2 separate regions of the Homo sapiens genome follow, and region 1 is linked to region 2. Evidence: promoter capture Hi-C in human tissues and cell types (Jung and others, 2019). All regions are on one chromosome and are shown on one strand. Each heading gives the region's core, a stretch centred on a gene start or on the middle of the fragment in contact. The rest is flanking DNA. Distances are from core to core; before and after follow the strand shown.

Region 1 (2,739 bases), core at 3-2,502, 270 kb before region 2:
GGAAGGAGTGTCGGTAGACTTTAGATTTTAAGAGATCTTTGGGGGACTCCCTAGTTAGATGGCTTTCAAGACACATGGCCTCTCCTAGCTTCCATCTTCCCATCTGGAAATTCAGATATTAATAGTGCTCACTTGGCAGGACTGTTATATTATGTGATAATGTGTGCAACGCAAATCTCTCTCTGCCTGATGCAAAGTAAATGGCATGAGATGCCTTTTTTCCCCCCCTTAGCACCTCCTGGTTACTTCTCCCTTTATCCAAGCTCCTGCTTCTCCACAGCAATATTGTACCTGAGCAGAGGATTCTGGATGATCTCACCAATGTGCTAACCGTGAGGGCGATTTAAGGTGAGCAGCCTTTTCTTCTGAGTCTCTTGCCTGGGTGTTGGGCAAATGCTTCCACCGGCTGGCTGACATATGTGGCCTGCTGCAGACTAATTTCTTGTGACATGTTGCCTTGAATGCACAGTCACAGAGCATGTGCTGAAGTGCTAAACACCCCCAAACTGTGCACTTTCCAATCTGTGAAAGCTTTTTGGTGGGTCCAGGCTTTTTTTCTAGACCTGAGGCATTATAATGAGGAAGCACATGGACACGTCATTGAGGCAATCTGTCACCTTGCAAATGCTTAATAGCAGCAGCAGGACCTGTGTGTCCCTCTCAGTGAGCCAGACACCACCACACAGCTGCTCTTCTGTTGAAGTTGTTGCTGCATTAATGAGCTTCCAGACAAAGGCATGACTGTGTGGTGTGTAGCTCAGGGTCCGCACGCAGGCTGGGAGTAATGCACAGAGGGAGACCTATGCTCAAAAATAATACTTCATTTGCAAAAAACTGGTTTGGAGCCCACAGGAATTACTGTGTTTCTTTAGACTTCAAAACTTGTAAAGGCCGGATCATCCTCCTGCAATATTTTACGATAACAGTAGCATGTTAACAGTTATCTGATCCTCTAGGGTTTATAGTGTTTTCACACTTTGAACCTCACCATATCACTGTAAACGTATTGTTTTACGGATGAGAAAATTTGAGTCCTTCAAAGGTTCAACAAAATACACAAGTTCATGTGGTTAATAAAAGGCAGGGACAGCCCTTGAATGGAGACCTGTATGACTCCAGGTGCTTGACTTTCTGAAGAATTATCACCAGACTTACTCTCAGTTCCCCCATATGTACTAAGATGTCACTGAAACAGCTAAAAAGGAAGCTTCTGATAGAAGGAGCTTTCAAGGGACTGAACTTCTCCATTAAGATTTTAAGTCCTTTATCTGCCAGCATGTTAAAGGAGACTAGGGCATCCCAGACATTTTTCAAAAGCTAAGCCTTACACCCAAAGCAGGTCCTTCCTCTGCCTTGCTTATGATGATGATGTAGGAACCTTATGTGATACCTCACACCACCAATATAGGAGAGTAACAACTGAAACAGAACCAAGAATATAGAACAGATGTAGAAATCAAACCCCAAACTACCTCTACTACTTCTACGACTACTATTAATAAAATAATAATGCAGATAAAACAGCAATAACAAAAATAACAGTAGTCAGCATTTCTTTAGCCTCTACCATATAACACTTACTGTTTGCATACATTATCTTGAATTCTCCCAACAATCATCAAATAGGGGTTGTCGTCCCTCTGCAGATGAGGACACTGTGGTTCAGAGTGGTAAAGGAACTTGCTGGAGGCCACAGAGTTTGTACATGGCAGAATGAGGCAAGATGCTCAGGTGTCCCGACTCCAAGGCTGTGCTATTTCCATTGGGCCATACTTGCCTTCTCTCAAGGAGATAGATAATCACCAAACTAGTGAGTAGTGTTCAGGAGGTTAGGAATCCCCATAACCCAGTGTGGCCAAGGCTGACAAAGCCTAATAGGTGCATAGCTGCTCCTTCTGATCATCCAAGGCTAACAGTTATCCTTCAGGACCCAGAAAATGGGTTTCAATAACCTGCTTTTAATTTTCTGTGCCTGGCCAAGAAATAATGAACAAAGGGACAACTTCTAAAAAAAATCTGGCTTCAGGTGTGAGTTCAATCAAATCCTCTGACAGTGTGTTAAAGTATCTGTGTATGTGCACACACACCCACATTCATGCCACACAGGTGTAGGATGCGAGCAGAGAACAGTAGGCTGATTCCATGTCCTTTTCTGCCTCCTGACAGCTATGAAACTACAAGTGGGTAGATTATAGTTGAAGATAAAAATAGACATTATACTGCCGCTTTCTCTTCCCAGCTTTTTAGTCGCTCCAGCTTGAAAGCATATTGTAGCATTTTATTGTAGTCTAGGCTCTTGTGGCTTCTCTTGTTTGCCATTCCTTTTTGGAAAACTAGAAACATTCCCTCTCCATGGGGAAATGAACTCAAGTAAGTGAGAGAGAGGCGGCAGAGTGCGCACATGTGTGTCTGTGTGTGCCTGCTTGTGTGCACGCTCATGTCCTTCCACGCCTGAGGGAGGAAAGGAGGTGGAATGAGTGCATGTGTGTGCCTGTGTCCCACTGCCTCTAAGAGAGGAGAGGAGGCAGAGTGTGAATCTGAATAGAGCGGAAATTGGAAATTGACACAGCTGTTTTTGTTTCACTGTAACCATTTTTAGAACCTCAGGATGCACTAAGCTTCCAAAGGAGGCAGCCCACTCAGCCTTGGGATTCAACACTAGCCAAGAGTGAGTAGTGATTTGAAGGCACTGGATGCATCATCCCAAGGTCTACAGTAGACCCCTCATCCAAGCATTGC
Region 2 (2,700 bases), core at 15-2,514:
TTGGAATCCACTTCCCAGCGCCCAGCACAGCGAGGCTCCCAAGCAGCCGGCACTTCATAGACACAGCTCCAAGGATCTTATTTACGCTTTTCTGAACAAAGGGAATCTCATATCCGGTACAGGCTTAAGAATTCAGCCCCAAATTGGCTATCTTCTTTTAAAACTGAATTATGATAATTGGAGTCCGTGAATCAGAGCCCGCATACAATGATGAGTTCTGACAGCTTCTAACAACCCTAGCCTCAGCCCAGCCCCAGCCCCAGCCCTCAGGCGGCATGTACTTTTTTCAGTCAACTACAACTCGCTGCCTGGTGCAGCATCTAAATTCCATCTGGCAATCCCATCTCCCCAGCACATGCTATCTGGTTAATGCAATTAAGCCTGTGGTTTTCGCTGGTCTAATCTGCCAGTCCAGGCTTCTGATTCCCCTTAATGATTGTAAAGCCTCTCCCGTCCTTCCGTTGCTGAGCCAAAGTAGAGGCATGCATCCCCAACACCCAAGTTATCACTCTCTCCCCACGAAATGAACTTCCGATCTCAATCTTGAAGCTCACTCCACATCTAACCTCCCATTGTACCCCTACTCCCCCCTGGCCACATTTACCACTTAAGTTTCTGCCATGGACATTTACGAATATTCAGTACGCTAAGCATGCGTCCACCGTCTTTTAGTCTAGCTCTTTAAAATTAAAAAAGCAGAACAGTAGCTTTGAAATGAGACAAACATGTGCAATTAACTTCATATTCTGTATTCCGCTCACTTACAGGTTTTCTGGGTTTGCCAGCGCATCGCTGCAACTAATGATTAAAGAAACCAAACCGAAACTTACCTTTCTCCCTTAAGGTTTTTGTGTATGTGTGTTTTTAAAGTAACGGTGCAGTTCTCCCAATAAGGATGAGCAAGAAGCTGCTGGATAGTTCTCTTAAGACAGCACGAAACCTAAACTGTGCTCGGCTTAAAAGAAGCAAATAAAAAGAAACGCTTTCGACCCCAAAGTCCAATGCTAAAAGAAATGGCGAAAAAAAATATGAAAGGGGAGGGGAAACTTAAAAAAGAGTTTAAAAAGACGGAGAGACTACCCTCCTATTGCCGTTCAACTAAACAAAAAGGGGCAAGAAAAACAAACCAAGGAACAAAGAAAAGAGACGAAAGAACGTTTTTTCAAAAAGACGATGTCTTTCTCCTTGTTGCTTTTTAGTAGGTCGCTACAGGAGTAAGCTGCTGCATCTCTAACTAAGAACAGAAATAGGGGGGAGGACGTCTTAAAAGGGAGGTGGACTGGACCACAGATTTATAGCACCGTATCACCAACCCCTTCTCTGCCTCCGCACTGCCGTGTGTGCAGCTGCTCTGCCAGGCTCCTATCCCGGGCAGCACGCGCGGAAGTATACGCCGAATCGCGCCACAACGTAACTTGCTCATCGCCCCAGGATCCTGATTGGTCCACACGCTTCCATTGAGGCCGCCCAGGCGGGGCCGCGTGAGACGATTGGCTATGGGCTTGTGTCACTCTCGAGAGCTCAATGGAGTCCCGTTTCAAGGTAAGTTGTGCGGGGAGGTACACTCTTAACACTGGCGGCGAAGGGAAATGCAAGAAGCAAAAAGAAATGTGGAGAGAGCAACGTGGGAGGGTTGGAACTGTACTATCAGAGTTTGCGATATGGCACGATCTCCTTTCCTCTTAAATCTTTCTGCTTCAGAAAGATTCATTTCCTTTGCCATCACTGCTGCATCTGTGGCATATTTCTTTATAACATTTAACTCTGTCCGGTATGTATGAGTCATTGAGAGCTCCCTCTCTTTGATCTGAGTGAAAGGGATGAATGTACATCCATTATTTGCCCGCATGCCTTTTTTCGATTTGTGTTCAGTACTGTATTTTGTATTAGATGTTAGGTAATTGTATGTCTTTATTTTAATATACGCATATTTCAGATTTATGTGTCCCCATGAACCCCTTTTTAAAGCATCCTTTTAAGATAAAGATGAAGTCAGAAATGCTCTCAAATAAAGCTGCACGGTTTGAATTGGCTTTCACTTCATGTTAGAATAGAAAAGTGTAGGATAAATATCCTATCCAGAAAAAGAGGTATTGAGTAGAGCTAAGGTCCTTCACTTCGAGGTGTCTAATGATTCTCAAAAAGAGCAGCTGTATATAAAACTGGAACAAGCCACTCCTCTGCATTTGCAGACAGGTACAGTCCTTGGACCACACATGTATTGCTGACAGCAAAGATAGTTGAACCTTTATCAGGGCTCTTTCTGTGAGGATTTAAGAAGTTTAACCAGAAGACCAAGTGCTATCAATGCTTCTGCTTCATAGAGGAAGACTACTTTATTACAACCCCATATTTTAACAGCATTCAGGAGACCAAAATACAGTTTTATGCATGATAATTGTTTCTTCCTCTAAGTGAAAGTGAGGTCCTCAGGATCGTCTGGATGTATAAGTAGACACAATATTCATTTGACCTACGTTCTTTTCCAGCCAGCATTTCTCTTTTCAATCTTGAAAGATAGCACCAACTTCCTAGACAGTTTTTACCATTCTTACCAGAATGTGTAAATGTAATGTACACATTACATTACACATGTAATGTGTCTTAACCAGAGGCACATGCCTTTTTGAAAGGGATTCCTTTACATATTTACAACTAGTCGCTATCTTTGAGAATGCCGGAAAAAGAAGACACAGGTAA

What was found. Contacts are between HindIII fragments. The study calls those that stand out against the background at their distance.
Region 1: a fragment that was not itself captured here is called in contact with the fragment with the promoter of ELAVL2 in region 2 in 2 of the 25 tissues and cell types used here (dorsolateral prefrontal cortex and mesenchymal stem cells).

The regions. Positions count from the first base shown.
Region 1 is chr9:23,550,959-23,553,697 of GRCh38, forward strand. It overlaps LOC101929563 (a long non-coding RNA gene), which reads right to left. Exons shown (of 28, transcript NR_121602.1): 13 at 1,582-1,972. Among named protein-coding and RNA genes, the nearest start is that of ELAVL2, 270 kb to the right of the region's middle. The HindIII fragment of the contact is 3,320 bases long and covers 1-2,739 here.
Region 2 is chr9:23,824,976-23,827,675 of GRCh38, forward strand. It overlaps ELAVL2 (ELAV like RNA binding protein 2), which reads right to left and starts at 1,265. Exons shown (of 7, transcript NM_004432.5): 1 at 831-1,265. LOC105375992 (a long non-coding RNA gene) reads left to right here and starts at 1,453. Exons shown (of 3, transcript XR_929519.3): 1 at 1,453-1,542. The HindIII fragment of the contact is 12,029 bases long and covers 1-2,700 here.